6 separate regions of the Homo sapiens genome follow, and all the other regions are linked to region 5. Evidence: promoter capture Hi-C in 16 types of primary human blood cells and fetal thymus (Javierre and others, 2016). All regions are on one chromosome and are shown on one strand. Each heading gives the region's core, a stretch centred on a gene start or on the middle of the fragment in contact. The rest is flanking DNA. Distances are from core to core; before and after follow the strand shown. Region 1 has its middle 7.2 kb from the start of MTHFD2. Region 2 has its middle 37 kb from the start of BOLA3. Region 3 overlaps MOB1A (MOB kinase activator 1A). Region 4 has its middle 17 kb from the start of BOLA3. Region 5 holds the start of STAMBP (STAM binding protein). Region 6 overlaps MOB1A (MOB kinase activator 1A).

Evidence for each region. The method cuts DNA at HindIII sites, captures the fragments that hold promoters and counts their contacts. A CHiCAGO score of 5 or more calls a contact.
Region 1: a fragment that was not itself captured here is called in contact with the fragment with the promoter of STAMBP in region 5 in 14 of 17 cell types (total CD8 T cells, activated CD4 T cells, monocytes and 11 more); the score reaches 11.6 in total CD8 T cells.
Region 2: a fragment that was not itself captured here is called in contact with the fragment with the promoter of STAMBP in region 5 in 16 of 17 cell types (M1 macrophages, activated CD4 T cells, megakaryocytes and 13 more); the score reaches 17.3 in M1 macrophages.
Region 3: a contact is called between a fragment that was not itself captured here and the fragment with the promoter of STAMBP in region 5, in 12 of 17 cell types (activated CD4 T cells, neutrophils, total CD8 T cells and 9 more). The highest score is 11.1, in activated CD4 T cells.
Region 4: a fragment that was not itself captured here is called in contact with the fragment with the promoter of STAMBP in region 5 in 14 of 17 cell types (M1 macrophages, activated CD4 T cells, non-activated CD4 T cells and 11 more); the score reaches 9.2 in M1 macrophages.
Region 6: a contact is called between a fragment that was not itself captured here and the fragment with the promoter of STAMBP in region 5, in 17 of 17 cell types (erythroblasts, fetal thymus, endothelial precursors and 14 more). The highest score is 24.8, in erythroblasts.

The regions. Positions count from the first base shown.
Region 1 is chr2:74,189,149-74,193,764 of GRCh38, reverse strand. No RefSeq gene overlaps it. Among named protein-coding and RNA genes, the nearest start is that of MTHFD2, 7.2 kb to the left of the region's middle. RefSeq lists enhancers at 198-925, 926-1,652. The HindIII fragment of the contact is 518 bases long and covers 1,412-1,929 here.
Region 2 is chr2:74,108,942-74,113,230 of GRCh38, reverse strand. It overlaps a transcript of TET3 not described here. Among named protein-coding and RNA genes, the nearest start is that of BOLA3, 37 kb to the left of the region's middle. The HindIII fragment of the contact is 273 bases long and covers 2,847-3,119 here.
Region 3 is chr2:74,167,619-74,171,982 of GRCh38, reverse strand. All of the region lies in intron 2 of MOB1A (MOB kinase activator 1A), which reads left to right. Among named protein-coding and RNA genes, the nearest start is that of MOB1A, 9.1 kb to the left of the region's middle. The HindIII fragment of the contact is 7,349 bases long and covers 1-4,364 here.
Region 4 is chr2:74,128,846-74,133,422 of GRCh38, reverse strand. It overlaps a transcript of TET3 not described here. Among named protein-coding and RNA genes, the nearest start is that of BOLA3, 17 kb to the left of the region's middle. RefSeq lists an enhancer at 2,668-3,281. The HindIII fragment of the contact is 7,915 bases long and covers 1-4,577 here.
Region 5 is chr2:73,826,001-73,830,593 of GRCh38, reverse strand. STAMBP (STAM binding protein) reads right to left here and starts at 1,633. Exons shown (of 10, transcript NM_213622.4): 1 at 1,084-1,633. It overlaps LOC105374807 (a long non-coding RNA gene), which reads left to right and starts at 196. Exons shown (of 3, transcript XR_940246.3): 1 at 196-278; 2 at 1,690-1,837. RefSeq lists an enhancer at 1-136 and a silencer at 1,644-1,862. The HindIII fragment of the contact is 5,447 bases long and covers 1-2,494 here.
Region 6 is chr2:74,150,359-74,154,511 of GRCh38, reverse strand. It overlaps MOB1A (MOB kinase activator 1A), which reads left to right. Exons shown (of 6, transcript NM_018221.5): 6 at 1-1,984. It overlaps BOLA3-DT (BOLA3 divergent transcript), which reads right to left. Exons shown (of 3, transcript NR_045636.1): 3 at 2,123-4,153. Among named protein-coding and RNA genes, the nearest start is that of BOLA3-DT, 4.5 kb to the right of the region's middle. The HindIII fragment of the contact is 4,043 bases long and covers 1-3,750 here.

The DNA of each region.
Region 1 (4,616 bases), core at 421-2,920, 360 kb before region 5:
GGCCGGGCACAGGGGCTCACGCCTGTAATCCCAGCACTTTAGGAGGCAGAGGCGGGCGGATCATGAGGTCAAGAGATCGAGACAATCCTGGCCAACATGGTGAAACCCTATGTCTACTAAAAATACAAAAATTATCTGGGCATGGTGGCACATGCCTGTAGTCCCAGCTACTCAGGAGGCTGAGGCAGAAGAATCGCTTAAACCCAGGAGGCAGAGGCTGTAGTGAGCCGAGATCATGCCACTGCACTCCAGTCTGACAACAGAACGAGATTCTGTCCCAAAAATAAAAATAAATAAAATAATAATAATAATAATAATAATAATAATAATGAAATGGGCTGGGCATGGTGGCTCACACCTGTAATCCCAGCACTTCGGGAGGCCAAGGTGGGAGGATCACTTCAGCCCAGGAGTTTGAGACCAGCCTGGGCAACATAGTGACACCCTGTGAAAGGAAAATTAATTTCAGACTCTAAAATCACTAAACTGAGGGGAAAGTCAAGCTGGGAACTATGTCAGGCAAACCTGCCTTCCAATTTATTCCCCAATAAGATAGCTACAAAGATTAAAAAAAAAAAAAAAAAAGAAAGCTGCATATCTTCCTCACAATTTGCCCACAAGGAAATTCCTTGTGGGTCTCAAGATCTTTACCTGAAAACAGTTCTGTTGAATTTCATCCTGGCAATGTAAATTGATAGATGATCTTCACAGATGCAGGACAGAAAGTCATCCCTCTGCTTACCTGAGACAAATGCATATCTGATTGCTTCCTCTGCCCTATTGTTTTGTTTTGTTTTGTTTGTTTTTGTTTTTTTTTGAGAGAGAGTTTCGCTCTTGTTGCCCAGACTGGAGTGCAATGGCGTGATCTCAGCTCACTGCAACCTCCGCCCCCTGGGTTCAAGTGATTCTCCTGCCTCAGCCTCCCGAGTAGCTGGGATTACAGGTGCCCGCCACTATGCCCAGCTGATTTTTATATTTTACTAGAGATGGGGTATCATCCTGTTGGCCAGGCTGGTCTCGAACTCCTGACCTCAGGAGATCTGCTCGCCTTGGCCTCCAAAGTGCTGGGATTTCAGGCGTGAGCCACTGTGTCCGGCCTCCCCTATTGTTTATGTAAAAATGCAGATTCACTGAGCCAGACTAAATTGTGTATTCAGTGAAACGCTGATCAAGGACTCAAAAGAATGCAGCCTTTTGTATCTTATCTACCTATGACGTAAAAGCCTCCCCACACCACTCCCCACTTTGAATTGTCCCATCTTTTGGGACCGAATTAATGTACATATTACACATATTGATTGATGTCTCATGTCTCCCTCAAATGAATAAAAGTAAGCTGTACCCTGACCACCTTGGGCACATGTAATCAGGACCTTCTGATGTGGCTGTATCATGGGTGCATGCTTAAGCTTGGCAAACTAAACTTTCTAAATAGATTGAGACCTATCTCAAATATTTTGGGTTCACATTCTGTCTTTAAAAAATATTTTAAAATTAGCTGGCTTTGGTGGCATGCACCTGTAGTCTTGAAGCAGCCTCATTGTCTGGGGTAAAACCTGAGGTTCATTGTCTCACAGCCACAGAGATCAAGGACATGGACACACAAAGAGTGAGGTTAACAGCAGGAAGTTTAATAGGCAAAAGAAAGAAAATAGCTCTCTGCTACAGAGAGGGGTCCCAGAAAAATGGGTTGTCGACCCACGGTGAAATGCAGAAGGTTTTATAGATGAGCTGGTTGGAAAGTTGTGTCTGATCTACGTAGGGCACAAAAAGCTGGTTAGGACCAGGTGTGCCATTTGCATGGGGCACGATTTTCTGGCAGCCCCCACCCCAGTATTTTATTATGCAGGCGGGTTTTCAGCCTAAGCTGTGCCATGTTGCCCACTTCTTTCTTACTGTACACGTGCTAACAAAAAGGAAGATGAAGCTTCCATGATGGACATGCCTGGCCCCCAGGTACCCCTTTTCTATTGACACAGCTGCCAGCATTCCCCTGTGCAATGTTCCAGCTTGCTTACCTATGTTTGCAGCTAGATTTTTCAGGCTACTTTTTGTTAGGAGAAAACTAATTTCTTGGGCTGCTTTTTGTTAGAAAGGAAGCTCTGCTGAGGACTCATTTGCCCTCACTATCTGCCTAAATAATTTCTTTCTACCTCCTGTATCAGTCTCAGCTACTGGGGAGGCTGAGACAGGAGGAAGGCTTGATCCCGGGATGCACCTTGTGCTACTGCACTCCACCCTGGGTGACAGAGCAAGAACCTGTTTCAAAATAATGATAAAAATAAAATAAAATCTCTTTTGTTTAACAAAAATATTTTTTGCCCCAATTTTAGTCCAAATTCTGTGAGGTGGAGGTGCTCAAGCCTGTCTATATCCCACCCCAGCTAGTCTTTCTGCCTCGTCTTTCTTTGCTCTGCCCTCTATACTCTAAGCATACCCTGCACTTCTGCATGGTGTTTGATTACACTCCTTTCTCTGCTCCCTGTACCCCTACCCTGCCTGACTTAAAAACCTGGCCCCTAGTCCTCCACTTTAAGTGAGTCTGAATGCTTCATAGACACATAACCAGGAATCAGGACCGCACATAGGCAAAATAAACTTTTTGCTGCAACACAAAACAGACAGAATGAATTGCATTTTCCTCTGGGCTATTGTAGCATGTAGGAATACTCCTATTGCAACTCTAAGAACATCTTGATGTTGTTTGTGCACCTGTCTATCTTCAACAATAGTGGATGTAGGCTTATTTAACCAGGGCAATTTATATCTCATGATTCATCTCATTCATCTTTAGTGTGCAAGCAGACAGCACATTAATGACCAAACATATCTTTTTTTTTTGAGATGGAGTATTGCTCTGTCACTCAGGCTACAGTGCAGTGGCGCAATCTCAGCTCACTGCATCCTCCGCCTGCCAGGTTCAAGTGATTCTCCTGCCTCAGCCTCCTGAGTAGCTGGGATTACAGGCGCACGCCACCACGCCCAGCTAATTTTTATATTTTTAGTAGAGACGGGGTTTCACCATGTTGGTCAGGCTGGTCTCGAACTCCTGACCTCGTGATCTGCTCACCTCAGCATCCAAAGTGCTGGGATTACAGGAGTGAGCCACCACGCCCAGGCTTTTTTTTTTTTTAGACAGAGATTGAGGTCTCATTCTGTCACCCAGGCTGGAGTGCAGTGGCACGATCTCGGCTCACAGCAACCTCCACTTCCTGGGTTCAAGCAATTATGCTGCCAGTGACAGGGCCCCTCTGTACATCTTCATGAACCAAGGGGGATGAAAGGCAGCTGCTTAAGGATCCCGTGTTTGGAGAACTCCGACCTGAGAATTTGGGCTTAGGTGCCTCTTCAACTCTTGTTTGTTGCCTTGAACTAGGGGTGCTTTCAGTTTAAGGGGCACCTCTGGATTTGGGAGGAGTCAATGTGGCACCTAAGTAGATGCAAAGAGATTTTCTTCTAATTTCAAGGAAAAGTAAGGAAATCTTACTTATTTAACAGGATAGAAAAAGGGATAGGGAGTCAAAGGGTGAGGAATAAGGGCACTACGTTTATGGACCATTAATCATGCATCAGGCACTGTGCTAGATTCTTCCCCTACATTTATTCATAATGCTAACCTTCCTGTGAGGTCAATACTGTATCATATTATCTCTATATTAAAAAAGAAGAGACAGATTCACAAAGTGAAAGTAATTTGCCCATGGTCACCAGCTAGTAATGGCAGTGCCAGGATTAAATATAAGCCTGTCTTCATCCAAAATCCATGTTCATCCACAAAACCTAACTAGTACTGTTGTTAGTTCTGGTTGAAGACAGGGCATTTGGCAGAACACATTGGCCAGAATGCAGGAGAAGGAACCCCTGACAAGGTCACAGAAGACTTAAGGAAATGATTCGTACTGAAGGTTACACTCTAACAAACCTTTTTCTTTTCCTCTCCCTCCCCTTCTCCTTTCCCCTCTCCTTCCCTTCCCTCCCCGTCCTTTTCCTTCTTTTCCATCTTCTTTGTTTTCTTCCTCCTTTTTCTTCTTTTTTGCCTGCTAAAACAACTCTTGGCTGGGCCCAATGGCTCACACCTGTAATCCTAGCACTTTGGGAGGCTGAGGCCAGCGGATCACTTGAGCCCAGGAGTTCGAGACCAGCCTGGGCAACATGGTAAAAGCCTGTCTCTACTAAAAATAGAAATACATGCTGAGTGTGGTGGTGTGCACCTGTAGTCCCAGCTACTCAGGAGGCCGAGGTGGGAGGATCACCTGAGCTCGGGAGGTGGAGGAGGCAGTGAGCCAAGATCATGCCACTGTACTCCAGCCTGGGTGACAGAGTGAATTTAATTTCACTCTGTGAAATTAAGGAGGTGACAGAATAAATTTAACTTATTCGTTAATTTTTAAAAACCAAACAACTCTTATTAAATTTTTGCCATCTATGAAAATTTTGGGCTGGGTGTGGTGGCTTATGCCTGTAATCCTAGCACTTTGGGAGGTCAAGGCAAGAGGATTGCTTGAGCCCAAGAGTTCAAGACCAGCCTGGGCAACACAGTGGGACCTTCAAAAAATACAAAAATTAGCCAGGCGTGGTGGTGTGTGCCTATAATCCTAGCTACTTGGCCAAGGTGG
Region 2 (4,289 bases), core at 1,734-4,233, 280 kb before region 5:
GTATTTTTAGTAGAGACAGGGTTTCACCATGTTGGCCAGGCTGGTCTCGAACTACCTCGTGATCTGCCTGCCTCGGCCTCCCAAAGTGCTGGGATTATAGGTGTGAGCCACTGCGCCTGGCCATTCTTGTCTTGTTCCAGTTCTCAGAGGAAAAGCTTTCAGCTTTTCTCCATTCAGTAAGATGTTAACTGTGGGTTTTTTTTTTTTTTTTTTTTTTTTTTTTTGAGACGGAGTCTCACTCTGTAGCCCAGGCTGGAGTGCAGTGGTGAGATTTGCACTCACTGCAACTTCTGCCTCTCGGGTCCCATATCAAGCAGTTCTCCTGCCTCAGCCTCTCGAGTAGCTGGGATTACAGGAACGCACCACCTTGCCCAGCTAATTTTTGTATTTTTGGTAGAGACGGGCTTTCACCGTGTTGGCCAGGCTGGTCTTGAACTTCTGACCTCATGATCCATCCACCTCAGCCTCCCAAAGTGCTGGAATTATAGGCGTGAGCCACTGCACCCAGCCTGCTGTGGGTATTTTTAATCTTTTTGAAAGTAGATTGTAGTCACTGTCTAATCTCTTGTATTTCTTGCAAAGCACTCATTACTAGTCTTTGAGTTCTTAATATTTGTTTTTTAAAATAATTTTAAAAAATTTTATACCCTTAGATCTGCATATTGTTTTTTATGTAGTAAAACTTTTTATTTGGCTTTAGATAACTTGGTTAACTTGGTTTCCTGTTTATTTACTTCCTTGAGTATAATTTTGCTGATGTTTTGGTTCTTATTGATAATTTTCTTTATTTGGAGCGGTTTTATAGTTTATGTAAATGTTTTAATGGATTTCAAAAGGAGTTAGTTTCTTACAGATACTTTAAAAGCAAATAAGTAAATAAAAGGAGTGGGTTCTTGGTGGTATTACTGGCATTACCATCAGAAGACCCTTCATATTTGAGAGGCCACATGGGGAGGTGCACCAAGGAGATAATCAGATAAAAGACACCAAATGGCCTGCAGTGTTACTAAAGATGCAAGCTGGGGCCAAGTCCTGTGGGGCCCTGCGGCAAAGTTAAAATGTGTCTTATCCTGAGAGCTGTATCAAATGGGGAGTATCGAGGAGTATTACAGGGAAATAGTATCATCTGATTTGGTTTTTAGAAAGATTATCTGAGTAAGGAGATTGGCTTTGGTAAGCTGGGCAGGGAGATCAAATGGGGGCTAGAATTGAAGTCTTTCAAATAACAATACCTGTTGAAGATGCTCTGAAGAGCCAAAGTCTTCCTGTGGAGCCACTTTGTTGCAACCTGTGCCTCTTGTGCCCATAGACCCACAGACTCAGGTCATGCCCTAAGCTTTAGGTAGGTAGATTCCCACCAGTGAGGACAATGTCCCTTGGGTTTGTGGGTCTTAAGGTACAGAAGAAACAGGGGTATATTTGGATAGGGCACAAACTTTGGCACCAAATACACCTGGGTTGATTCTGGGCTCTGCCATTTCCTAGCTGGATGGTCTTGAGCAAGCCATTCAACCTTTCTGAAGGGTCTCACATTTAGACCAAGATATGAGAGGCCTCTGCCCTGGGTCCCCAGCTTTAGAGGGCTATACTGTGGTCCTTGTCCAACATGCCTCTGTCCATATCAGGGAGGAGTCCATATCTGTAATTAAGGCTTACACATGGTAGTCTGTATGAATGGTGTTCCCCAGAGTTGTGCAGTGCATAGCCTGTATGACTGTACAATGTGGGTTGCTAATAAAAGTAGCAAAGAGAAGCAGGATTGAGAATGCTGAGGATGTAGAATCTAGACTTGGCAGGTGTCAGGATATGACTGGGAGAATAGGAAATTTGGTGGAGAGTTGAGAGGTCAGTTTTGGTTAAGACTTTGACCTTACCAAAGAGCCACCCAGAGCTATCCAGCAGCCCAAACTCATGAGGCTAGACATGGCTTTGGAAATCATTGGCATTAGGGTCATAGTTGAGGCCTGGTGGCTGAACAAGTCCTTTGAAGGAAAGCTTATAGTCTGTGGAGAAGACTGAGTCGATTCTTTTGGGGGCATTTGTGTTTAAAGGACAAGAGGTCACAAAGGGGCTCATGAAAGGGGGCAGGGTCCTGGGACAATGGAATGTTCCTGGCTATGCAGTCCGGGAGCAGAGGGTTTCCAGGGCTTCACAGAGGTCAGTGAGGATGAGGATCCCTGGCTCAGAAGCTGACTATTTCTGGAGAAATAAAGGTACAGGTGAGTGAGTGGTATGGACCTTCAAGCTAGGAGGTTGTCTACACCTGCAGATATGTGGTGGTGATAGGAAGGAGTGGGAAAGGTCTATGAGGCACAGCAGGGTCAGGCTGGGGTGAACCTGAGAGCACGTGATGGGGAGAAGCCACAGAAAAGGGTTAATGGATGAAGCATGTTCCACAGGAGCAGCACAGGGTGCACATGGAGAGTGAGAGTCAGGGGTACCGAGCAGCAGGGGTGTGTGTACAGTAAAGAGGACAAACATACAGGAAGATGGTTTGAAGTGTGGTGAGGGAAATTGGGCAGGCTCCCTGGGCCTGGGGTTGGGCTTCTCAGTAGAGGAAAGCAGGCCTCTGCTAAGACCTCTGGAGTGGGGATGAGGTGCTGGGGGGTATCTAGAATTTAACAAAGCTTTGTCTTTCACGTCTTCTATGTTGTGTTCATGGCTCTGACAAGAATGTACACTGGATTATGTGTGTCGAACATGTTTTTAGGGCTTCATGTCCCCTTGCAGGGACATGATGTATGTATGGATGCACCATCCCATGGACATGGGACGTTGAATGCCCATTATTTTCAGAGTACAATGGGAGACAAAGATGACTAACAGCTCTCCAAGCTTAAGAAGCTTACAAGAGCATCAGAACACACAACAAAGTTGCTGACCAAGTTGTGTAGCTGGGTTGGGTAAACCAATATTTGACAAAATTAAGATTCAAAATAGGCAGGGAGAGTGGGTTAAACAGTTCATTTAAGATGGCTACATTTCAACTGCTGTGTGAAGCATTAAAAAAAAAAATTGCACGCAGACTTGAGTTAGTGGACCTGATTTGGCAAAAGTTCACTGAAGAGGTCACTATGTGGTCCCAAGACTAGTCTTGGATTCCTTAGTGATCTAAAGCTTTGCATATGTCAAGAGTAATAATGATAGCTCTTATTACTTGCTATGTCCCGAATGCCTGGCACTTTCACTTCTGTAGCAATTTTTTTATCCTTATATCTTATGTGGTATCATTAGCCTGTCTTATTGACAAAATGACACAGGGAGATGAAACCCTCATCAAATCACACAATTGGGAAGTGAGGGATCTATGTTCTTTCCAAGCCACAAGCCGCTGCTTAAAAAGCTAATAAACCTTGGTGTACACTCATAAAAATAGTGTGTCCAGATCGTGGGGCTCCTTGGTGTCTTTGTGCTTGGCTTGCATGAGCCGGATCCCATCTGGAACAAATTGCTCATTTCTAGAGATCCCAATATGAATAATGATGCTCTAGGTGTGAACAGACGGGGGCACGGTGGGGAGTAGTGGTGGACAGGGCCTGGACCTGTTACAAGAAGGTTTATGGAATTAAGAATGTAGTCACGTGGCAGAGGGGAATTTACTGCAACGCTTCTCAGCGTAGAAAGAAATAGACTGAGTGGGATTTACATGGAGGCACATTTAGATTAGTTCAATTTATAATTGCAACAACTTGGGATGTTAAAGAGTTTGGTGATACAGGGATGATTAAATGCTTCTGTATCCATACTAAAAACATTGCTAGGCAACTATTTAAAAAGATGCTATTCTGCATACTGATAAAGATAGTTTAAGTGCAAAAAGATTACAAGATTGTATTATTGTATTCCATTTGAAAAAATACATATGGGTCGTATTTACACACTCAAAATGTTTGCAACCAATATGCGGTTCTCTCGTGGTGGGATTTCAGATAACTTTTAAGAACTTCTGTCTTCTAATTTTCTATATTTAACATGGAACTTGTATAAGAAGAGATGGCAGCATATTTATAGCTAACCAATAGTGAAACCAGCCCCAGCTGAAGGAGGAATGTCCTGGCCCTCCCTTCAGGCTCTGCAGATGGATCCATCATGACAGGCGCTCAGGAAGGGGACAGAACTAGGTCTCTTCCAACTCAAGGAGGAAAGCAGGTTACAAAACACAGTGTGACCCCACTTTTGTAAAACATATAAACATGTTTGAGGATCCCTGGATAGCCAGGTGTGCCAAGGCATTTCCAGTGGGTTCCTTTGCAAGCAAAGTAAAATGGAGATAAAAACCTCCAAGCCGA
Region 3 (4,364 bases), core at 188-2,687, 340 kb before region 5:
AGATTTCAGATGTTCCAGGAATAAAAAGTTTAAATAAAAAGTTTAAAACTTTTTATTTATTTATTTATTTATTTATTTTTGAGATGGAGTCTTGCTCTGTTGCCCAGACTGGAGTGCAATGGCTCAATCTTGCTTCACTGCAACCTCCACCTCCCGGGTTCAAGCCATTCTCCTGTCTCAGTCTCCTGAGTAGCTGGGATTACAGGCACACGCCACCACACCCAGCTAATTTTTTACATTTTAGTAGAGACAAGGTTTCACCATGTTGCCCAGGCTGGTCTTGAACTCCTCAGCTCAGGCAATCTGCCTGCTTTGGCCTCCCAAAGTGCTAGGATTACAGGCATGAGCCACCACGCCCAGCCTAAAACTTCTTAATGGAAAATTTCAAACATATAAAAGTAGACTAAGTACAGTGAATTCCAGGTATTCATTCCATTACCCAGCTCCAACAAATATCAGTTTGTGACCAATTTTTCTTCTTCTATATGTCACCCTGATTATTTTAAGCAAATCCCAGACATGATGTTTTATCTATAAATATTTCAGTAAGGTATGTCTAAAAGACAAGAACTTGTAAAGATAATGACAATGCCATCCTCCTTTAACTTATCAAATATCTGGTCAGTGTTCACATTTTTCATGACTGTCCCATAAATGTTTCTTTTATTTTTTATTTTTTTTTTATTTTATTTTTTGAGATGGAGTCTTGCTCTGTCACCCAAGCTGGAGTGCAGTGGCGAAATCTTGGCTCACTGCAACCTCCACCTCCACCTCCCGGGTTTAAGCAATTCTCCTGCCTCAGCCTCCCCAGTAGCTGAGGGATTACAGGTGTCCGCCACCACGCCCGGCTAATTTTTGTATTTTTAGTAGAGAGGAGGTTTTGCCATGTTGGCCAGGCTGGTCTCGAACTCCTGACCTCAAGTGATCTGCCCGCCTCAGCCTCCCAAAGTGCAGGGATTACAGGCGTGAGCCACCGCACCTGGCCAAATGTTTTCTTTTTAAAATTTTTTTGCTTTAAAAATCTATGCTTTGTTTAAATCAGGATCCAAAGAGGCCTGTGTGTATGCTTCTTGAATCTCTTTTTTTTTCTTCAGAGATGGGGTCTTGCTTTGTTGCCCAGGCTGGAGTGCAGTGACATGATCATAGCTCACTGCAGCCTCAACTTCTGGACTCAAGTGATCCTCCCACCTCACCCGTCCGAGTAGCTGGGACTACAGGCTCACACCACCATGCCCTGCTAATTTTTTTTTTTTTTTTTGAGATGGAATCTTGCTCTGTCGCACAGGCTGGCGCGATCTCAGCTCATTGCAACCTCCTCCTCCTGTGTTCAGGTGATTCTTCTGCCTCAGCCTCCTGAGTAGCTGGGACTACAGGTGCCCGCCACCACACCTGGCTAATTTTTCTATTTTTAGTAGAGACGAGGTTTTGCCATGTTAGCCAGGCTGGTCTCGAACTCCTGACTTCAGGTAATCCACCCACCATGGCCTCCCAAAGTGCTGGAAAAAACCCAGCCAAAAAAAAACCTTTTTTAAAAAACTTTATTCAGGGCCGGGCATGGTGGCTCACGCCTGTAATCCCAGCACTTTGGGAGGCCGAGGCAGGCGGATCACGAGGTCAGGAGATTGAGACCATCCTGGCCAACATGGTAAAACCCCATCTCTACTAAAAATACAAAAATTTAGCTAGGTGTGGTGGCACGCACCTGTAGTCCCAGCTACTTGGAGGCTGAGGCAGGAGAATCACTTCCCGGGAGGTGGAGGTTGCAGTGAGCTGAGGTTGTGCCACTGCACTATAGCCTGGGCGACAGAGCAAGACTCCATCTTAAAAAAACACACACACACAAAAACAAACAAACAAACAAAACTTTATTCAGATTATCATCTGTTATTCTGAAGTCATTTATTGACCTTCAGCCTTAGATTTTTCTTTGAGACTTAACTGCTGTAGATCAGCAGTTCTCAAATTTTTTGGTCTCAGATCCACTTACCCTCTTAAAAAATTATTGATTCCCATAAATATGTACCATTCTGTGTTAATTAAAAAAGTAAAATACAAGCTGGGCATGGTGGCTCATGTCTGTAATCCCAGCACTTTGGGAGGCTGAGGTTGGCAGATCACTTGAGGTCAGGAGTTCGAGACCAGCCTAGGCAACATGGTGAAACACCAGCTCTACTAAAAATACAAAAATTTGCTGGGTGTGGTGGCACACACCTGTAATCCCAGCTACTGAGGAGGCTGAGGCAGGAGAATTGCTTGAACCTGGGAGACGGGGGTTGCAGTGAGCCAAGATCGCACCACTGCACTCCAGCCTGGGCAACAGAGTGAGACCCAGTCGGGGGAAAAACAAGGTAAAATACAAAAAATACAAAAAAAATTATTGAGAACCCCAAAGAGCTTTTAATTATATTGGGTATATCTCGTGATACTCTGTTGGAAATTAAAACTGAGAAGATGTAAATAGTTATTTTTATTTTTTATTTTCTCTCGAGACAGTATCGCCCTGTCGCCCAGGCTGGAGTGCAGTGTCACGATCTTGGCTCACTGCAGCTGCCTCCTGGCTTCAAGCAGTTCTCCCACCTCAGTCTCCAGAGTAGCTGGGATTACAGGCATGTGCTACCATGCCCGGCTAATTTTTGTATTTTCAGTAGAGACGGGGTTTTGGCATGTTGGCCAGGTTGTTCTAGAACTCCTGGCCTCAAGTGATCCGCCTGCCTCATCCTCCCAAAGTGCTGGGATTACAGGCGTGAGCCACTGCACCCGGCCCAAATTCATTTTAAAATAACAATAATAAACCCATTACATGTTACCATAAATATGTTTTTACGAAAAATGACTATTTTCCATAACAAATTTTAGTGAGAAGTATGGCATTGTTTTATATTTTTGCAAATCTTATTTAATGTCTGGCTTAATAGACACCTGGATTCTTATATCCGTTTCTGTATTCAGTCTGTTGTGATATTACACATCATGGAGCCTCTGGAAAACACCATTGTGCCCTCTTGAGAGAGTAAGAGTGAAAAGAACAATTAAAATGGTTTGACCTTACAGATCCTCCCTCAGATAGGGGATTCCTGGACCACGTTTTGAGAATAGCTCTTCTAGACCAAACCAACTTCCACCTGGGCATATTTTTTGTTTTGAGTGAATATTGAATACCTAAGTGTTACTTTCTTAGAAACATGACTAAGAGGAAGATTTATAAGTGAGGGAGTTTTGTATAAAATTCCTTTTACAAGATAGCATTTTAAAAAAATCTATTTGTTTTTTAAGAAACTTGGAAAATACCTAGTTGTTTTTAGGTACTTCTTTAGACAGGAGACTAAAACTTTTTATTTATTTATTTTTTCGAGACAGGGTTGTCCAGGCTGGACTGCAGTGGTACCCTCACAGCTCTCTGCAACCTTGAACTCCTAGTCTCAAGGGATCCTTCCACTTCAGCGTCCTGAGTAGCTGGGACTACAGGCGTGTGCCACCATGGCTAACTAATTTTTTAAAATTTTCAATAGAGACCGGGGTCTAGCTGTGTTGCCCAGACTGGTCTCAAATCCTGGCCTCTTAAAGTGCTGTGATTATAGGCGTGAGCCACTGCACCTAGCCTAAAACATTTTTTGAAACTTTCCAAGGCTTATGTGGTTCTCTTTGCATAGAGTATACTCACTCAGTAAAGTTTATTTACTCACCCCCTGCCTCTTCCATTTTATTCTGGATCTAGCTGAAGCTCCCTCAGGAAGTACCCCCTGACTACTTCCAACTCTTCATGACTTTGCCTTTTCTCTGTAGCATTTATCGTTGGCCTTTGGATCCTGTCTTCTTATATCTTGTACTATTATTGCTATTTTTATTTTGAGACAGTGTCTCTGTCACCCAGGCTGGAGTGCAGTAGCACCATCACAGCTCACGGCAACCTCAGCCTCCTGGGCTCAAGCAGTCCTCTCGCCTCAGCCTCCTACATAGCTGGGACTGTAGGTGTGCACCACCACGCCTGGCTAATTTTTTAAAAATTTTTGTAGAGATGGAATCTCACTCTGTTGCCTAGGCTGGTCTTGAATTCCTGGGCTCAACCAGTCCTTCTACCTCAGCTTCCCAAAGTGCTGGGATTACAGGCATGAGCCACCATGCCTGGCCATATCTTATATTATTCATCTCTTTTAATTTTGTCCTTTCTGTTAGCTAGAGACTCCAGGGCAGGGGACTTTATCTGAAGTATTTTGTCCTCAGTATGCTGTAGACCTCAAAAACAAATGTTTATGATTAATTAGATCTTTTAAATGCCTCTGGATACAGCTGGTGCACCTTCTCCCTCACAGTATATTCCACAACATGTTTTGTCTCTTTCCTAACACAAATGGTATTATCTGGTC
Region 4 (4,577 bases), core at 1,945-4,444, 300 kb before region 5:
CTGCAGGTTGAGCCACAGCCACTCAGCTGAGCCACTCCCCAATTTCTGACCAAGAGAAACTGTGAAATACATATATGTGTTTGTTGTTTTAAGCCAGTGTTTGGGGTTACATTTTTATGCAGCAATTGATAATTAATATGTTTGTTCATTACTGAAGGAACACGGGGGACTCTCACTTATTGACAGACGGGTTGAAGAGCCAAACTTCGGGCTGGGCACGGTGGCTCACGCGCGTAATCCCAGCACTTTGGGAGGCTGAGGTGGGTGGATCACTTGAGGTCAGGAGTTCAAGACCAGCCTGGCCAACATGGTGAAACCTTGTCTCAACTAAAAAAAAAAAAAAAAAAAAATACAAAAATTAGCCAGGCATAGTGGCACATGCCTGTAGTCCCAGCTACTCGGGAGGCTGAGGCAGGAGAATCTCTCGAACCTGGGAAGCAGAGGCTTCAGTGAGCCAAGATCACGCTACTGCACTCCAGCCTGGATGACAGAGCCAGACTCCGTATCAAAAAGAAAAAAAGAACAAAAAAAAAGAAAAGAAAAAGAGCCAAATTGCAGAAAGGACACGGGTCCAGCTAAGAGTCAGGAACACCAGTGCCACTGGGTCTCCCCTTCATCTGCTGTCCCTTCCTCTCTACAGATCAGCTTTATTATCTCTCACTCTAGATTGGCATCTGCCATACAGTGGTGACTTGAATGCCAGTACCTCTTAATTTATATATTTTAATGTCCAGTTCAGCCAGATGTGGTGGCTCACATCTGTAATCCCAACACTTTGGGAGGCAGAGATGGGAGAATTGCTTGAGCCAAGGAGTTTGTGACCAGCCTGGGCAACAAGTAAGACACTGTTTCTACAAAAAATTAAAAAAATGCCAGTTGTGGTGACATGCACCTGTAGCCCTAGCAACTCTGGAGGCTGAGGCAGCAGGATCACTTGAGCCCAGGAGTTTGAGGCTGCAGTAAGCTGTGATTGTGTCATTGCACTCAGCCTGGATGGCACACAGTGAGGTCCTGTTCAGGCCGTGGGAAGAGCAGACTTTGTTTTCAAGTCCCCAGGACGGCCTCTGTTTGGCTCATCTTGAATTAGGAGCCACCTGGCCTAACGCGTTGTAAGAGCAAACTTTCTTTTGGAGTTCCCAGGAAGGGCTCTGATTGGCTCATCTTGAATTAGGAGCCACCTGGACTAACCAGGTGGGGTCCAGGGGGCATATAAAATTGCAGCCTCTAGCTGGACTCTGGCTTGAAGTGGAGAGAGAAGGCGTTACCAAAAGAAGAGGGGGTTCTATTCTTCAAAGAAGGGCTGGGACAAAGCAGCAGATGTTCTTGACTGGAGGAAAAGATAAGTGTGGCTTTGTGGGCCAAGCCGCCTAGGAACCTCCGGACACCAGAAGACAGGGGACTCTTCCTTCTGCTTCACCCCACCCGCAACCAGAGAACTCTTCGGGCTTGTGAAATGTGTAATCCCCTAAATGCTTCTAAATCTGGAAACAAATAGGGCCCCCCCACCCAGTTGTTCTTCCCCCCAAATTAAAAGGAAAGTTGGGAGAGGAATCACAGGTTTTTTTAATTGACGGATTAGAAAACGAGAAGAACGTGTTTAATCCCAGTGGCTAGAGTATAGCATTGCATCGGATGTAGCCACCTCCTAGCTTTTTGATTAAGTGTTGCTTGTGGAAAGTGCTAGGTTCACATGAGAGGTCTTCTGAGCTCAGTGTCGTTTTAAAAACAGTGTGCGGTTTTCCAGTGGAAAACCCAAAGTTCCCTGAGGTGCCGGCTGACTGGGCAAGTCAGTGTAGGGGAAACTGCCTGCTCCACAGCCCTCCCCTGGGCACATTTTGTTCCTGGGTTCCTGTAGTGCCCCTCAGCCCTGGTTAGACCACCTAACTAGCAGTGTAGGGGACAGGGTGGCCAGTAACCTGAGAGAGGACCTGAGGCTGCAAAGCCCCACCCAGACACAGACTGGTTAGGAGCCAATGGTTTCAATTCCCTTTCTTGGGAATCCAGAGTGGGAAAGGTGAGTGAATGACCCGCGGAGAGCCAGTCCACCGACCAGACAATGGCTGCTGGAGCGCTCAGGGCTAACGGACCTGCGAATCCAAATCGGGAAGTGCGGAGATAATGGACTGGAGAGGCCAAAGCTGAACAAATGGACTGAGAAGGTCATGAATGAAGGGTTGTGGCAAGAACGTGCTAAGAGAAAGCAGGCATTGAAGTAAAGAAGATACAGTGATTCCCATTCTGGCTGCAAATTCGAACCACCTGGAATAATTACAAATATCCCTTCCTGGGTCCCTGCCAGATTTAAGAGTCTCATTAGTGAGGGAACGGGAGAGCGGAGGCACCGAGACCAGGTAAGTCACCGTACAGGGGGACTCTCCTCTTTATCCCCTACCAGCCCCCTAGGCCTGCCCTGCCCACCGCAGTTCCCCTCCGTCCAACCCCTTTTCCCTCGATGGGGCTACTGCGTATCCATTAATTCACCTCGCCTCCACCCCCTCACCCATTTGCGGGGAACTGCCCCCCAACCCCTAATTCCGCGGGGTGAACAGCGGGAGCACTTCCAGGCAGCCAGAGCCCGGGCAGGCCCGACGTGGCCTGCGCGCAGAAGATGCCTGTCCTGCAAAATGGTCGCAGCCGGCAATTGTTTGTTAATCCTCTCATCAGAAAGCAGCCCGACGAGTCTGCGGTCCCTCAGGCCGGCTGTATCCACAGGGTGCACCCAAGCACAGAGAAGGTGGAGATGGAGGGACGGGAGGGGGTTCCGCTGCCCTCGATCCCCGGGTCCAGACGTTGTTGGAGAGCAGCAAGCGCGCCCTAGTCCGCGCTTCCTCGCCACGACTCTGCAAGAAATGTCTTACATAAGACACTCACTCTCGGTTCAAGTCCGCCAGCAGTGGCTTGTGAGCTCCAGCTGCCTTCTTCGGGCCACCAAAAGGAGCGCAACCCGCAGAGCGCGCACTCTTGCACGCTCACCGCCTCTCCACTCCCTGCCCAATCAGCCAACATTTGTACCTGCACTGGCGCTAATATTGCTGGTCGGGCTATGCTAGGAGTCAGCTCTACCCTTAGGCACCTCATTCCAGGAAGCTGACCTCATTTCTTAGCTCCTGGTAAGATACCCTGTGGCTGTGAACTTAAAAGAGCATTTGTGTAATTTATTTTTTCTGTAAGGAAAAGGTGTTTAGGGTGGCAGATGAGAGTACACCTAAAAGATGCCCGACGGGTTCTTTTCTTTTGCAATAAGACTAAGCAACCATAGTGACTATGGTCAAACAAAACTGTGAACCCAAGTGTCTATACTAAAGCCAACTTTTTTTTTTTTTTTTTTGAGACAGACTCTTGCTTTGTCTCCCAGGCTGGAATACAGTGGCACAATCTCCGCTCACTGCAACCTCTGCCTCCCGGGTACAAGCCATTCTCCTGCCTCAGCCTCCCAAGTAGTTGGTATTACAGGTGCCTGCCACCAAGCCCGGCTAATTTTTGTGTTTTTTAGTAGAGATGGGGTTTCACCATGTTGGCCAGGCTGGTCTCGAACTCCTGACCTCAGGTAATCCGTCCACCTCGGCCTCCCAAAGTGCTGGGATTATAGGCGTGAGCCACTGCACCTGGCCTAAAGCCAATAAAGCAGCCACCAGGGAATTCAGTGTGAGTGTAACAACAGACTCCTGCCTCTCTCTGGAAGATATAAAAACAAAAAAGTCATTGGGGGCACAAAAGATGATCACATAAAAGAGTAAAACAACTGATGTTCAAGTAATGCCCTTAAGGTTTTTTCAATTCATTTTTTTTTTTGAGACAGGGTCTTGCTCTGTCTCCCAGGCTGGAGCACAGTGGTGCGATCTTGGCTCACTATAGTCTGCCTGCTGGGTTCAAGCAATTCTCCCACCTCAGCCTCCTGAGTAGCTGGGATTACAGGTGCCTGCCACCACTCCTGGCTAATTTTTGCGTTTTTTGTAGAGACGAGGTTTCACCATGTTGGCCAGGCTGGTCTCAAACGCCTGACCTCAGGTGATCTGCCTGCCTCAGCCTCCCAAAGTGCTGGGATTACAGGCATGAGCCACTGTGCCCGGCCGGGTTTTTTTTTTTTTTTTTTTTTTTTTTTTTTTGAGACGGAGTTTCACTCTTGTTGTCCAGGCTGGAGTGCAATGGTGCAATCTCGGCTCACTGCAACCTCTGCCTCCCGGGTTCAAGAGATTCTCCTGCCTCAGCCTCCTGAGTAGCTGGGATTACAGGTATGAGCCATGAGCCACCATGCCCAGCTAAGTTTGTATTTTTAGTAGAGATGGGGTTTCTCCATGTTGGTCAGGCTGTTCTTAAACTCACGACCTCAGGTGATCTGCCTGCCTCAATCCCAGCACTAATCCCAAAGTGCTGGGATTATAGGTGTGAGCCATCATGCCCAGCCTTTTTTTTTTTTTTTTTTTTTTTTTAAATTGAGACAGGATCTCTGTCAACCAGTCTGAAGTGCAGTTGTGCATTCACAACTCACTGCAGCCTTGACTTCTGGGGCTCAGCTGATCCTCCCACCTCAGCCTCCCAAGTAGCTGGGAGTATAGGTGTGCACCACCATGCCTGGC
Region 5 (4,593 bases), core at 384-2,883:
TAGAACCACAGTGGACCAACCAAAGGTTCAGTTCAAGTTAATCAAATCCTTTGCCATTAGGGGGCTCCGCCCACAGCACTGTAAAAGTGGGAACAGCATCTTTTATTTTCTATTATTTCTCCTTCCAGATACCCACATACCTCCACCCCAGTACCTGGCAGAGTGCACTCAGTGAACTTTCTTGAGGATTGTTAACTAACTTCAAGGTTGACCATTTTTACTTAATCTGAGAGTAACTGACATTTTCTGTGGTATCCTTTTTCATATTTGAGCACAAGGTGAGTTAGGGGAACTGGTCTGGGAATTAATGCTCATAATTGTAACTCTGCTCACTAAACCACTATAGTCAATCTATAAAATCATTCATTCATCATTATCATGGCAAGAGACTTAAATCTTGAAAACAACCATTTACTCATCTTCATAGACTAAACACTGAATAACAAAAAGGCACGATGGTAACTTGCATTGCAAAAACCCCTGGTGTCCCAAAACTCCAGTAATTCTAGTCTTTCTAGATATAGTTGCTGTTAGAATCAGATTCCAAATTCCAACCAGATATCACCACTATCATCTCCAAAATAAAACTGGGCATTTGACACACATTGCATTACAGCAAACCCTAATCAGTATGCTCTAGAATACACAAACTACAGTAGAATAAATCTTGGAATTCAAGGCCCTGTGGCAACTGGCCCTCCCCAACAGAGATCTTTTGCTTCAGTCAGGATTCCAATCCGCCCAGGCATCCTCACATTTCAGTTTCATTTATCTATCCAGTTTTTCTTTTCTACTACAACTCTTCCCTCAGGGGTAGTCTTCTCTCAGCCAATTCCATCTTTAGGTCTCTTCAATATTCGGGTCACAATTCCTCCACAAACCTTCCCCTCTAAAACACCCTCACTAATAGCACAAAAGCCGTGAGGACTACTAGGGATGCAGAGATAGTCCATCTCTCACGAGGCCTCCTTAGGGACTCAGAAAGCCGCAAGCATATCTAAAACCTCCCCAAGTAATTAGTAAACCTAGTCCACGGCCCATGAAAGTTAACTGAAACAGAGGATGCTTGTTGCATCTCAGTACCTCTTGGGAGAGGTTCTTGTGGGTTAAGAAAGGAACCACCTCCCAAGGCCAGGAAGCGGCGCCGGTTACCACCTGGTTGAGCAATTCCAAAAAGGGGATGCAGCATCTGCAAATGAGGGGGAAAGGCGGCGTAAAGGACCGAGGGGGAAATACGAGGAGGAGAAAGGAAGTAGCAGGAATGAGCGGAGGGGGCGTATACAGTAGGGAGGGCTCTATCGACAACTGCTTGAGGAACCCTTCTTGAAGGCACTCAAGACGAACTTGCCAACCCCAGGCACAATCATCCAGGGTTTTCGGGATCTTTCAAATGCAGTAGGCGGGGAACCGCTGGGCCTGGCTGGTCAGGCGCCAGCCCGCGGAGACAGAAGCCGTCGGGTGCCTCGAGCGAGGCAGGCCGGGCAGGGGACTCGGGGAGAGTAGGCTGCAGGCCCCACACTCACGGCGGCCGATCCCCTTCAAAGTCCAACCACGCTCGGAGGCCCTGCCCCACCACGTTCCCGGGACCCTTCCCCACCTTTCCCCGCGGATGACACCCGGAGGTTCCGGAAACGTCACATCCGGCGCCCGCTCCGCCCACTCCCGTTCGTCTGTCTATTACATTCCCAGTGATTTAGGACTTGGAACGGAGAGCTAGTAGGTGGGGCTAGAATCGGCACCTGCGGAAAATCCGACCAATGAGGAGCGAACGACACAGCGGCCATCTTGGTAAAGGAAAAGGAACAAGGAAGAAAGTGGAACCAATTAGCAAGCTAAGGTTTGCTTTTAAAATTATTTTGATTTGGGGTAGTCCCTCATCACACTCACAATACTCCTGCATTTAAGGAGGGATTGCTGATCCCAGCACAACTGCAGACTTAGCTAAACTAACCAGGATTTATAAATTGGGGGACAGAAAGTCTTTCGAATGTATTTTTTAGCTTGTATTACATTCTACACAAAAATTGGTAGTCTTAGATATTAGGCAATATCTAAGACTAATTTTATTGCTTAGAAAAGAACATAAGTCTAACTTTTTTTTTTTTTAAGACAGGGTCTTGCGGTGTCACCCAGGCTGTCACAGGAGTGCAGTGGTGTGATCATAGCTCACTGTGGTCTCCAACTTCAGGGCTCAAGCGATCTTCTTGCCTCTGCCTCCCAAAGTACTGGGATTACTGGCGTGTGCCACCGCACCCAGATGAGACTAACGTTTTAATGTCAAAAAACCTATAAAATATTTGGAAAAAAAGCGTTTAATCTCTAAGAGCCGCTATGCAAAAGCAGTGGAGACACAAAAATCTGTATGACACTGTTCCTGCCCTGAGACCGGGACAAGGTGGTTTTATGCATCAAATACAGAATGGCACGTTCTGCATGTAGATGTGTGTCTGTACGAATCCATATACATCCTCTTTACAAAAAGGTCCTACAAGCTTGCTAATCATTCTGTCTCAGAAGACTTTGTGAAACATTAGGCTTTGGTTTAAAAGTCTAAGTCTCTGGGGGACACTTTCCCAAAATTTGGGAGCCTCCCTGTGAGTTTGTTAGTGTGATGGCATGACCTATTCTTCAAGGTCTAGCTTAAATCCCTAATTCAGGTGTTGCCTCCTCCACCTAGCCAGCCTCCAGATCTCTCATTTCTCCCAACCTCCGTTGTGTATATTTCTGTTGGAGTTACCTGAAGTGATTTTGTGTAGTCATCAACTTTTCAGACTTAGGGTTGAAAGTACTTGCTTGCATCATATCACCTCCCCTTCTGCCCCCAGCAAGCATTAATGTGCATGGGTCTACTATCAACTCTCATGGATCTACTGCAGATAAATCTGGGAAGATAATTGTATAGGGCACTCTACTGTGTCTTCAAAACTCTCTCTACTGACTCTCTTCAGAATGTAAACATGATGGGTTGGGCCTAAAGAAATTGATGCACTGGAGATGCTGGTCATTGGGTGGGCATTATAGTGCAGATGGGGTCCTGGCAGGAGGCAACACAGGTCAAAATCTGATCCATTCAACCTCTCACTCAGTAAATGTTTACTGAGTGTCTACTATGTGCCAGGTTCTGTTCTAGGTGTTAGGGATACATCAGCAAACAAACCCAGCAGGTGGATACTCTAATGGTGGAAGCACAGGTAGAAGTACAGCTGGTGGGGTAGGGAGGGGCATCTGCTCCCATTCAGCACAATCTCTAAAGTAGTTCTTTTTTTTATAATGTTTAGCTTAACAAGTAAAGAAAATTTACAAACATCCTAGATTTTAAGATTATGATGAGAAGACTTTAAGAAGCTATAACTGAGACACACATATAAGGGGTGTGCATAGTCGTAAACATAGCTAGCGCCACATAGAGGCTGTTCCTGATATTAGAAAGTTAATATGCCCAGTTGCTAGCAGTTCTTAAGGTAATAGCTAAGTGAATATAGGAAGCAGGATCTAGTCTTTTTAGGGAGAGAATTTGTAAATGTTGACCAGAGTTTTTGATATCTGGGGCAAAGTTCAATACTCAGCTTTCTAGGGACCTGAAATAAGAAAATCTTGGCCAAGGTAAAAATTTTACATTCCTCATTTCTTGTTTAACTGGAAAAGTTTAAAAACTAAACAATTTTGTATACACAATCAGGAAATCAAAGCTATAAAAGATTCTTGGCATAACTGATGAGAATATCCTACCTACCCCTGCCCTAAAGATTGGAGGCTAAGCGTGGAAGGTATTCCTTCAGCAAATAGGCTTCAGCAGTTCACCTGGCAGACTAGACCAGGTTAGGAATTGAGATGCTCTTTCCTTCCGGTGCTCACTCCCAGCCATGAACACTTTTCCTGAATATAGCAGCCTCCATCTGGCCGCTTGCATATGCCAACGTCAGGTCTCCTGCACTCCTGCATGCTCATTCCTACTTGCTCATTTTTGGGCAGCAGCAAAAGATGCCTAGAAGGTGAAGTTCTTAATCTGAAATGTAACATCGGGGTTTAGAAAACACAGGCCTGGACCAGGTGCGCTGGCTCACGCCTGTAATCCCAGCACTTTGGAAGGCTGAGACAGGAGGATCGCTTGAGCCCAGGAGTTCGAGGATATAGTGAGCTATGATTACACCACTGCTCTCCAGCCTGGGCAACAGAGTGAGACCTCTAAAAAAACAAAACAAAACAAAACAAACAAAAAACCCAGGAGGATCACTTGAGCCCAGGAGTTTAAGGCTGTGGTGTGCTATGATCTCACCTGTGAATAGCCACTGCATTCCAGCCTGGGCAACATAGTGAGACTCCTATTGCTAAAAAGCAAAAAGAAGAAAAGGAAAAATACAGACCCAGCGGAGTTCGGGGGTCAGGGAGGGTAAAAACAAGGAAGACTCTAGGTGTATTTCACTTGCAAGGTTGGTACTCTTGTGTTAAGTGACATACCTAGAGGGACAATTGCATTAGTACAGGAAGGGCGTTCATTCTTACCTACTACAATGCATTCTTACAACAGCAGCTAATTTTTTTTTTTTTTGAGATGAAGTCTTGCTCTGTCACCCAGGCTGGAGTGCAGTGGCA
Region 6 (4,153 bases), core at 480-2,979, 320 kb before region 5:
AAAGACGATCACATGTCAGGACAGTAGTAAAGGCAGCTTATAAATGGGACATAAATCAGAGATGTGTTGGTATTTTGAGACTCAAGACTGTCCTTTTTTAAAATAAAAATAAAAACATTACCAGGTTCCCAAGCCAATCTGGCTTAACCAACAGTGCACTGAAATATTAGTGTTTACCTCCAAGGCTAGGGAGCCAAGGGGAGGAGGAGAATTGGAGGAAGGGGAGATAATGGGAAGAGGATGGCGCCTTCCTGAGTTGGCTAGAGGGCCAACCTTTGATAACAGTTTGACGAAATCAATCTTTTTTTTTTTTTTTTTTGAGACAGAGTCTCACTCTGTCACCCAGGCTGGAGTACAGTGGTGGGATCTCGGCTCACTGCAAGCTCTGCCTCCCAGGTTCATGCCATTCTCCTGCCCCAGCCTCTCCTGAGTAGCTGGAACTACAGGTGCCCGCCACCACGCCCAGCTAATTTTTTCTATTTTTAGTCATGCCTGGCTAATTTTTTGTATTTTTAGTAGAGATGGGGTTTCACCGTGTTAGCCAGGATGGTCTCCATCTCCTTACCTCGCAATCCGCCCGCCTCAGCCTCCCAAAGTGTTGGGATTACAGGCATGAGCCACCGTGCCCGGCCTATAGAAATCAATCTTTTTGACTCTTCTCACTTTTATCTCCCCATGCCCAAGGTTTGCCTGTTCCATAACACTCACTCCCTTCCCCCTTGCTAATCAGAAGCCATCTCCTCTCAGTGTCTGATCTCTGCTCTTCATACATGATTACAGTCATGGGGTAGAGAGTGCTTGCTAAATTATGCAGTTAATCCTATGGTGCTTTAATTTTCAGGCCTTCAAAAAACACTTGTACAGTGATGTGCAGATTTTTAAACAGTTGAACTTCCTTGTACTACAGTTTTTGTATTGACAGCCAAATTTGTCTTTCATTCTTCAGATTGTGAATAAAGTGATTTTTACAGGGCTTCCAGCAAAGTTTTTCCTTTCATCTAAGGCTTGTAGAACCCTAGCTTATATAGCTGCTTACATGAGAAATGCAAAATCTGTATTCACCATGACTTTAGTAACAAAGGTAAAGTTTTTTAGTAGTGCCAAGGCAAGAGGAACAATCTTGGTGGTAGTACTAAGTTTTGTCAATATTGTGGTTTCCTGATTGTATTGTTGGCTTTCTCTCTGAGCATTGAGGTATACTAGAAGTAGAGCTTCTCAAACATAATATCATTACCTCATAAGCATTAACAAATCAGGCCCAAAGAGCGTAAGTCCTAGAAATTTGTTTTAAAGCAGCCCTAGTCATGGTGCTGGTGCTACCGCCTTGTTTTAGGAGCCTGCCTCCTGTCAGTATGAAACCCTCACCTGAAAAATGCCAGCCTGGACACCAAACACTGAGCCCCTTCAACAGGCACATTATTTCCCCCTGAGATCCATAAGGGAATTTAGTTTCTACTATTGTAGAGTTCTGAAAAGAGGTAAAATAGTAGTCCTTTGGTCATCCTATTTTTGCTTTCAATTTTGATATTTCAGACTGTAAAAGGCCTTGGGGGATGATAGTACATGTGGTAGCAGTAATTTTTTTGAAGCAACTGCACTGACATTCATTTGAGTTTTCTCTCATTATCAGATTCTGTTCCAAACAAGTATTCTGTAGATCCAAATGGATTACCAGTGTGCTACAGACTTCTTATTATAGAACAGCATTCTATTCTACATCAAAAATAGTTTGTGTAAGTTAGTTTTGGTTACCATCTAAAATATTTTTAAATGTTCTTTACATAAAAATTTATGTTGTGTTTTAAAATCCTTAGGGGCTTTATCTATTTTTCTAAGTCAGTTAACTGTACTTCTAAAAAAAGTATTTTGTATCTACTTTTGTAACTTCGTCAGAATAAAATATATTGAAAGCAAGAAATGACTGATTAAAGTATGTATATCAACACACATTTCTATTTAAATATAGAAACTTGAGAGTTTTGCAGATTCTGTGGATTTTTGAGTACAGCTTAAATTTGGAAAGTTATCTTTGCATATCATTTAGTAGCTAAAATGTTTTCTTAGCCGTTAAAAAAGGAAGTTCCTAAATGAACTAAGTATCATACTACTGGGACCGAACCCCTAAGAAACAAACTATGTCTCTGATAGTGGCTAAAACCCATCCCAAACAAAAATACGTGGTCTCCTTCCTGCCATGCAAATCAGGCTCCAGATCTCTTGTACATTCCTGGTTGTGCGATAGTAGAGTTAAAATTAAAAACTTAATGAATGTGGCTAAACAGTACAAGTTAACACTAATTTTATTTTTTTGAGCTGGGGTCTCTGTTGCCCAGGTTGGAGTGCAGTGGCACAGTCTTGGCTCACTGCAACCTCCGCCTCCCAGGCTCAAGTGATCCTTCTTTCTGAGCCTTCTAGTAGCGGGGACAACAGGCACACACCATCATGTCCGGCTAATTTTTTGTATTTTTTGTAAATATGGAGTTTTGCCATGTTGCCCAGGCTGGTCTCGAACTCCTGAGCTCAAGCAATCTGCCTGCCCCGGCCCCAAAGTGCTGGGATTACAGGTGTGAGCCACCACACCTGGCCTAGTTACTAGCAATCAGTTTTGGATTTCTTTTGACATTTTCAGTAGACTTAAAATCAATCACAAAAATGATAAGTTTGTAAGGGTATCTAATGGCTATTTCAAACTTTGTAAAATAATAGAATAACTCAGATAATCTTTGGGAGAGCCAGACTCTGGGTTTGAACCTGCACAGCCAGAAACAATGTCCAAACTATGCCATGGAGCTTCTCTGACAAATACCCCATTGATGTCCCCACTAGGTATGGACATTACAGCCTGCACTGTCCCCACTTAGGTGTGGACACTAGTCTGCACCTTTATCGCTGGCCACTAGATGCCAGTCTGCCACAACACCTCAAAAGCTAGCTACCTTTTTAGCTTTTTACTGGAGTCCTTTAGTAGGTTATCTCATTTAATCCATAAAGCAACCTGGAGAAAGTGACTGCAATTAAGAGGTATGCCAGAAATATTTCAGTATTCTTTAGACCATGCCACATAAGCTCAGACAAGTTCAAATAGCTAGTATATAGCAAGTCTGTTTCTCTGGATTGCATTTGCAAAAATTCTGCATGCTCAGCAGTGCTAGGAAGCTCTATAAAATGATGGTGCAACGAAAAATCATCCCAATGAGGTTAAAAAAGGAGATGCATCCAAAGAGTTCCTACCTAATGAATTTTCTGAGTTTCAGATGTATATATGTGTATGAAAGCTATGAGTGATCATGGACCAATACAACTGAAGAGAACAAGAGAATCTCGAGGTCACAGCAAAAAAAAGTAAGATGCAGAAAGGATTGACATTTCCTGGGACTAAATGCATTTCACTTTTGTTTTAATCACAAAGTAAAACTTACTTATTTGCTTCTGTCAAAAAAAAAAAAAAATACTAGAACTGTTGGAACTAATTTGGAAGCCCAAGATTCGTCAGATCGTCCTGCAAATCCTTTTCTAGAAAAGTTCAAACTTAGACCTATGGAGCGCAAATTGCTGAGCCTCTATCAGTTCTGTTCAGTAATTACAATGCATGCACTTTTTGTCCCATATTGGGCTGCTGACAGATGACTCAAGCAAGGCTCTGTCCTCAGGGAGCTTATAAACCAGTGAGAACAGACACATACATAAATTGATAGTTGTAAAAGGCCATAAGTGCAACAAAAGTTACAGGTAAGTTGCGGGCCCTAAGCTTACTGTGAGGCAGTCAGAGGTGGCTCTTTGGAGAAGACAAGGCTTGAACCTTAAAAGGTGGGCAACTGCATAACCAAACTTGTAGCATAGCTTATGAAGGGAGGTGCAAGTATAATATTACTGAAGGGTAGATTTCAGTTGGACAGGTAGATAGTGGTTAAATCATACAAAAGAACTTGAGAGTTTTGCCTGTAGGTAGGCGATGGGGAATCTGAAGGATTTCAAGTAGCAAATGTTTTCATTTCATTTTATTTTATTTATGTTTTTTAGACAAAGTCTCACTCTGTCGCCCAGGCTAGAGTGCAGTGGCTCAATCTCGGCTCACTGCAACCCCTGCCTCCTAGGTTCAAGCGATTCTCCTGCCTCAGCCTCCCAAGTAGCTGGGAGTAGAGGCATGTGCCAC